Regions from separate parts of the Homo sapiens genome. Here region 2 is linked to region 1. The links are contacts of gene promoters, found by promoter capture Hi-C in human tissues and cell types (Jung and others, 2019). All regions are on one chromosome and are shown on one strand. Each heading gives the region's core, a stretch centred on a gene start or on the middle of the fragment in contact. The rest is flanking DNA. Distances are from core to core; before and after follow the strand shown. Region 1 holds the start of ZNF626 (zinc finger protein 626). Region 2 overlaps LOC124904663 (a long non-coding RNA gene).

Region 1 (3,873 bases), core at 846-3,345:
GGTGATCCGTCCGCCTAGGCCTCCCAAACTGCTGGGATTACATGCCTGAGCCATGGCGCTCAGCCTAAAATATTTCTTAATCAAACTTTACTTAAGTTTATCTCCATCCCTCAGGCTAGTGAGGGATGGAGATAAGCCATCTCCAATGTAGGAGAAAAGCCCTTTTCTGCCTACATTTTTGCAACCCATGAAGATTTTTTAGTTAGCTGGTACTTCTTCCTGTTGCAATACTTCTTAGGAATTCATTTTTTTTTTACATAAATCTAATATTCTTATTTTAGAAAGCGTAAAAAGTGCCTCAAAACCATAACAACTTCATTACCAGTAAGACCCTCCCAGTTTCCTTTCATCTTAATCTTGACTGCATCTGCCTGTGGGGCCCCAGCTTTCCAAGGCTTTGTAGCTTCTTTCAGAATGAAGGCTCCTTCCGTGGCTGGGGTGAGCAGTCTTGAGATATCCGCAAGGGAGACTCCCCAGAAAAAAATAACAGGGCCTTTAATAACCTCCTGTTGGCCGGGTGCGGTGGCTCACACCGATAATGCCAGCACTTTGGGAGGCCGAAGCGGGTCTGAGGCAGAGAGTTCAAGACCAGCCTGACAAACATGGAGAAAACCCGTCTCTACTAAACACCAAAATTAGCCGGGCGTGATGGTGCATGCCTGTAATCCCAGCTACTGGTGGGGCTGAGGTAGGAGAATCGCTTGAACCCAGTAAGCCGAGATCACGCCATTACATTCCAGCCTGGGCACCACAAGCGACACTGTGTCTAAAAAAAAAAAAAAAAAAAAAAAAATACCCTGTTGCAGGCTTAATATTAGCCTTAGCTTGGAGTCACTAGGTTCAAGCTTTAATGTCCACATCAGTTATTCACTTGGTTTTTGAAACTAAGTGTTAGAAACTCCAGTGAAATTACTCACAATGTTTACATAAAGGAATTTTTAAGATGCTTACTTTTTTTTTCTTTTTTTTGAGCCGGAGTCTCGCTTTGTCACGCAGGCTGGAGCGCGATGATTGGATCTCAGCTCACTGCAACTTCCGCCTCCCGGGTTCAAGCAATTCTCGTGCCTCAGCCTCCCAAGTGGCTGGTACTACAGGCACGTGCCAACACGCCGATAGTTTTCGTATTTTTAGTAGAGACGGGTTTCACCACGTTGGCCAGGCTGGTCTAGAACTCCTGACCACGTGATCCACCTGCCTCGGCCTCCGAAGTGCTGGGATTACAGGCTTGAGCCACCGCGCCCAGCAAGAAAGGGGTTTTGAACCCTAATGCAGTTCCTGTTTTTGTTTCCATCCCCTATTGGCTGGGATCAGACCGCACAATCTAAGCTGATCCTGGTAAGCTTAGACCCAAACTTTTTCCAAATAAAGTAAATGCGCGATTTGCGAGAAAAGGAAAAGGGGGTAGAAGAAGAGGTAGGGTTGATTTACAACTTTTACAACTTATGACCAGAAAGTTGAGTCATTTAAAAGGAACTTAGTTGTCCTAACACCTCTTTACCTCAAGTGATCCGCCCGCCTCGGCCTCCCAAAACGTTGGGATTACAGGCGTGAGCCACAGCGTCCGGCCCCATACATTTTTAATAGGAGAAAAGAGAAACTGTAAACCCAAAGGAACAAAGCTCTTCCCATTCATGAACCCGCACCCCGAGTCAGGATTCTCCCCTGCCCACCCTCCCCTGGTCCCTGCACAATCTGGGAGAGACGCCACGCTGCGGGTGCAGAGCTGCCCAGAGAGGGCTCCAGGCCAGGGTAGTCACCGCGCAGTGAAGAGACAAGACGCCCGGGTGCCGGCTGTCAGCGCAGCTGCCATTTTATGGCTGAACAGGACTGAGGCCGAGCTGAGCAAGGAGAACTGGGGGAGCAGACTGTGGAGCTGACTGCGGGGAGGCCTGAGTCCCGCCACAGCCACTTTTCACCGGTTCCAACCAGTCCCTCTCCTCTCTCGGGATGTCGGACCCTCACTCTCACCATTTTTGGCTTCCAGGAGGTCCCGGTGTCTTAGCTGTGGATCTCCCAATACCTGCAGGACACGGGGCCACACAGCCTGGGCCTTTAGGAGAAGAACCAGACCTGGAGCTCTGACTGCAGCGAGAGACAAAGGCCGCACCAAACCCGGAAACCGTCCTCTTCGCTCCAGCTGCGTTCCTGATTGGATGGTTTCCAGCCCACCATCCCTGATTGGATAATGCTTAAGGCCCCGCCCCCTGAGGCCCTGAGTGACAGTAGATGTGATCAGACGCTGAGCTGAGTGAAGAAAGAGTGACAGCCTAAGCTGCAGCCTTTTCAGGCAGGGCTTCCTTCCTGAGCTGAGCCAGGCCCACCCCAGAGCATGGGAGAATTCTATCTTTTCTTTACTCTCTCTCTTTTTGAATGTATTCAAAAGGTGAACAGAAGTATTTTGCTCTCATATTAATAATACATAAAATTTTTGTTCAAGAGAAAATCAACTTTTACTTTGGCAATAATGTATTATCAATACTAAAGGTAATTTTGATAAAACCTTATAAAAAATCAAATTTGTCATTTTTGACCTCTCGAGATTTACATACATATTTTGTAATCTAATGTAATTTTTTAACTTTTTATATTTTATTTTTATCTACATTCTTTTTATTTTTTCAATTTGAAACAACCTTTAAGTAATTTCAAACTGTTACAAGAGACAAAGAAATCATTTAGGGCCAGTCCGCTGGTGCACGCTTGTAATCCAAGCACTTTGGGAGGCCAAAGTGGGTGGATCACTTCAGGTCAGGAGTTCAAGACCAGCCTGGCCAACATGTTGAATCTCATCTCTAGTAAAAACACAAAAAATTAGCCAGGTGTGGTGGTACACACCTGTAGTCCCAGGTGCTACGGCGGCTGAAGCAGGGGAATCGCTTGAACCCAGGAGGCGGAGGTTGTGTAACGGCCTAAGGGCTTCATCTTGCCTAGACAGAGATGATTCATCAAGACAGGGGAATTTGTGGAGGAAAAGTTAAATATTAAATTTGAACTCAGTTGAACATGGACACAAACAATGGTCACCAAGTCCTGGAACAGGTTATGTGAGCCCCTTGAGGCATTCACCTGCCGACCTTCCCCTGGTCCCTGCACAATCTGGGAGAGACGCCATGCTGCAGGTGCAGAGCTGCCCAAAGTGGGCTCCAGGCCAGGGCACAGTCACAGCGCAGTGAAGAGGCAGGACTTCTGGGGGCCTGGCTGTCAGCGCAGCTGCCATCTTCTGGCTGAATGGGACTGAGGCCAAGCTGGGCAAAGAGAACTGGGCACAGATTGTTTTGGAGAAATCTCTATTTTAATCTATTCCTATACGTTAGTTATTGAAAAACAATAGCCAATCGCAAAAAAAACAAGTTGACTTTTTTGTGTTCCTTGAGCCCAGTTGCAAAGAGCCCAGTTGCAACTGGGCCTCATGCCAAACAACTTGTTACAAAAAGAGCTAGGATCCCAGACTGCACCAAAGCTCCAAAGACCTCTCCTTGTCTGTACAGGGATGGGTGGCCGACTCTGGAGCCCAGGCTGTTGCTTCCTGGTCTGCTGATGAATCCTCCATAGTCTGGTGAGTGTAAAGATATATATTTTTTCTCTTCTCCCCTTCCCATTGCAATGCTCTTATTATATCAATTTGCTTATTATATATGCATTGCCATTTACCTGGGATAAAGCTTGTTTACCCTTAAAGGTATTGTGTGCGTGTCTTTTCTTCTCCCCTCATGTGTTTCCTGCACAGAACATATTTCTCAAAGGCTTCATTTGTTCCTTTTTATTCATTTTTGTTTAATCTTGTCTGCATGCCTTATTTTGGCAAGGTGGTCTTCAAACTCTGATGTTCTTTCTTCTGCTTGGTCAATGCAGCTACAAATACTTTTGTATGCT
Region 2 (4,022 bases), core at 1,503-4,002, 250 kb before region 1:
ACCCAAGAGATCAGGTATCTCCTAATAATTTTTTTCAGAACTTTCTGAGTAATAAATGCCATTCCATATAAATAAGTATTGTCTTAATCCTGTTCTGCATAAATTAATGAAACACACAGATGGAGCCTCAACATTACACGTTCTCCATCTTTACTAAGGACAAAAGTTTTCCCCAATAGAAATCTTGAGTAGCCGCATCTTTCCATGTTCAACAGCCACAAAGGGAACATTTTTAATATTGCAGATCATAACTTATTGCTGAGAATCCTGCATGGCATATAAGAAGCTATGACACAGAGAATGCAGAGAAAGCTCTGGGATATAGAAGAAAAATTATTTTTTCAGAGACCCTTGACTATCGTAAGAATTTTAAGTAGTTAAACCAAACCCAGGGAGAAAAAACACAAGTAGAGAAGTAAAGGTTTGTGAGTGCTACATGCATGGCAGTCCAGGAGGCAGAGTGAACACAGCTCTTCATCTGAGACATGTTTACCTGAAGAGAAGCCTTTTTTTTTTTTTTCACCTCCTCCTCTGGAATTCCTTGTCAGATGAGATTCTCTGGCCAAATTACCCCTGCATCTTGAGACTATGCCTTTAAATGTGTCAGCACCACATGTTTACCTGCTAGCATGACATCAACTGGCAGAAAAAGACAGAAAAAGTCCACCCATTTCTGTTTTTTACAACAAAAAGATTCAAGAACAATGAGATGCTCCATGAAGATAAAAATATAAGTTTCTCCTTTCATGTCCTCTGGTGCCCTTTCTGCCACAGACACCAGCAATTTCTGCTACAGTAATGGAAATATGTGCCACACTGACCTGCCCCTACCAAAACCAAACAGAACAGGTCCTGTGCGCACCACTTAGTGCAAAGGTGGAACTTCTTAACTCTCATGAAAGTATTTTGAGACCCTCATACCTGATTCTGGCCTCCCCTTAGAGTCACGTGAAGCCCTTCATTAAAACAACATGGATACTTCCACCCAGAACAATAAACAGAACCGGTGGGGAAGGCACAAGAGATTTCTGCAAATTGGCCATGTGATCCTAATGAGAAGCCTGGGCTGATAACCACTAAGCTAAGCATTGCCTCTCAAGCTTTAAGAAGCTTATAAATCACTTGGTAATTTTGACTCCACTTTATGTGATTCTGTAGGTTTGAAAAGGGTCCATAAATGGGTGTTTTAAACAAGTCCCCTGTCAATGCTGATGTTGCTTCTCCTTGGCTCATTATTAGCATTAGAGAAAGCAGGAATAGCAGAGGGTCCCTTACACTTAGAACTCTTGTCACAACCAAATACTTCTGGTACAAATAAGGACAACACATCTATGCTAAAGTTTTATATTCTTTGCTGGGTCTTTAAAGTTTACAGAGGAAACAGAAGGCAGCAATGTCTGGATAAGTCTGCATTTAAAAAACATGTACACATGTACAAATGCAATGTTTATTAAGCAGGTACTTTGTGCTCAAGAGTATGATACAGAGCACTATGCTGGGCATAACATATTATGTGATTTAATTCTTGTAACATTCTTGGAGCTAGTACTCAGGGTTTAATAATTTCCAGGATTTAGATAAAGGGCAGAGAATTTTTACTGCCTCTTCTGTTTCTCTGTTACCAAATTTTTTTAAACATTGTAAAGAATAAAAGCTAAATATATACAGATGAAAGAGATATAGAAGAGTTTATTGTAGTTTAGAGAAAATTTTATTCTGTTTATGTTTACTTTTCTGTGACTTGTGGAGCAACTACTGGATCTGCAGGAATAGAAAACAAGTTGCTAAATAGAATGTCTCTGCCAACACTGGTTTTAACAGAAAATTTAAAAACTAAGACTCTACAATACATACTTTATTTTTCCCATTTATCTGCTTTTGGGTTTCAGGAAATTGGATTCACCAGCCAAAACTCTGATATCTTCTAATCAGTTCTGTGAGGCAAGACTCCAGAGTAGGGTCAGACCTAAATAAGGCCTCCAAAAAGGGTGAATCTGAACATGTCTGGGACAAGGTGAGGATCCTATAGAATTCTGTTCTCTATGCCACTGTGGTACTAACAGTTTTCTTTTTTTCTAATCTTACCTAAAAGAAAAACCCCAGAGTTTCTGTAATTTTAATATTTTCTAGCACTGCTCTGTCAACTTTATACTGTATACTAATATGCAATTTAAACAATTCTCTTAAGGTTTTCTAGGGTAATTTTATAAGAAAATCAGTGTGTACACTTACGAAGGTAAAAGAACAGAAATTATACGGCTGGGCACAGTGGCTTACACCTATAATACCAACACTTTGGGAGGCTGAGGTAGATGGATCATGAAGTCAGGAGTTCATGACCAGCCTGACTAAGATGGTGAAACCTCTTCTCTACTAAAAATACAAAAATTAGTTGGCTGTGGTGGGAGGCACTGTAATCATAGCTATTTGAGAGGCTGAGGCAGGAGAATCGCTTAGACCCAGGTGACAGAGGTTGCAGTGAGCCAAGATCATGACACAGCATTCCAGGCTGGGTGACAGACTAAGACTCCATCTCAAAAAAAGAAAAATTAATTATAACAATTCTACTGTTCATTAATATCCCTTCAGGTGGTAGGTACCATGACTGCTTCATGTATTTTTTTTTAATGACCATAAGAAATGGAAGCAACTAGTTTATCTACTTGGGTCTCCAGATCTCCTTGTTTATCATCCAAGTACCAGGAAACTGGAGAAACTCTCATCCCTGTACAAACCAAAGACAACTCTTGTATGATGGGTTGAACAAACACAGAATGACTCATTTTTCTTTACACTGAGACAGAAGCAGAATTAACCACTCTTGTCAGCCTGACACAATTCTACTCTGGACATCCTCAAATGCCTCAAAGAAACCTAGGTGATTGTGAGGGAATTCCCAGTGACCCAGGGCTGATGGCCCAATGATAAGCCAGGCTGGAGCGACTCAGGCTGATTCTAAATAGAAAATAAAACTGCGTTGGTGGAGCCCCAGAACCTGGGTCACCTGTCCTGATATGCTAGCACTTGGGTAAAAGACAGAACAAAAATACTCTACTCCAGTATCCCATTTTACAGGTAAACATAGTTGTGGTCATGGCTCTGGATACTTTGTGGCCTGATCTCTCACTCCTAAGATGATTATTTACACTTACAGATTCTGCCATCAGATTCTATTTCCTCCTGGAGCCTCTCACATCACTGTAGCAGGTCAATGAAAAAGATGTAAAAAAACTCAAAATGCCACACTCTGAAATGGGGGCTGTAAGATGTCTATCTTGACAACTTACAATGCAGAAAATAACTTTTGTTAATTTTCTGTACATTCCATATCCAAAGTCTGGCACTTTTTAAATCCCAGGCAGAGGCCGGACCTAATCTGTAGATTCTAGATAGGATCAACCTGGCTCTGCATCCTTTGGTGTTACAGCAAATGGAGTACAATCAAAGGAGAGTACCCTCATAGAGGCTGCTCTAGAACATTCTAAGTGATAAGTCTAAATAAAAAAAGCTGACATATCAAGAATATAAGTAGACAGTTTATTTGGTTTAAGCTTAAGGATTATAACCAGGGAGCAAAGATTCAAGTTGCCTGAAATCTACACTTTGATTAGCAGCAGTTACAAGATTTGTAAAGACAAGAGAGGGACATAGAGTGGTCTGATACAAAGTTGTTTGTCAGAAGTTTTTATTTATTTAGATAAATAATATTGATTATTGATTAGATATATATCATTATTGTTTAGGGTATAGAATATAGTATCCAATGTGGCATTGTTAATTTACTTTATAGCTACTTGTGGCAATAGTGAACAGTTTCAAGGGATGAATACATAGTTCAAAGGGGAGAGAAAGATGTTAACTGCTCTTTCATTTTAACATCTCTCTGAGTTTGATAACCAAAAGTGCTTGCACTTTTTAGATAAAAGTTTTTTATTTCCCAAATCTCAAGATCTGGATTCAAAATATGGAGCTACAGATTTAGGTCCTGAATGGCAGGAGTAGCAGCAGGTGTTACTTGCACA

What was found. Contacts are between HindIII fragments. The study calls those that stand out against the background at their distance.
Region 2: a contact is called between a fragment that was not itself captured here and the fragment with the promoter of ZNF626 in region 1, in 1 of the 25 tissues and cell types used here (hippocampus).

What each region holds. Positions count from the first base shown.
Region 1 is chr19:20,659,476-20,663,348 of GRCh38, forward strand. It overlaps ZNF626 (zinc finger protein 626), which reads right to left and starts at 2,096. Exons shown (of 4, transcript NM_001076675.3): 1 at 1,969-2,096. The coding sequence starts at 1,971. RefSeq lists a silencer at 2,221-2,290. The HindIII fragment of the contact is 1,409 bases long and covers 1,093-2,501 here.
Region 2 is chr19:20,411,505-20,415,526 of GRCh38, forward strand. LOC124904663 (a long non-coding RNA gene) reads right to left here. Exons shown (of 2, transcript XR_007067167.1): 2 at 3,517-4,022. It also overlaps the pseudogene ZNF826P. Among named protein-coding and RNA genes, the nearest start is that of MIR1270, 14 kb to the left of the region's middle. The HindIII fragment of the contact is 3,294 bases long and covers 1,106-4,022 here.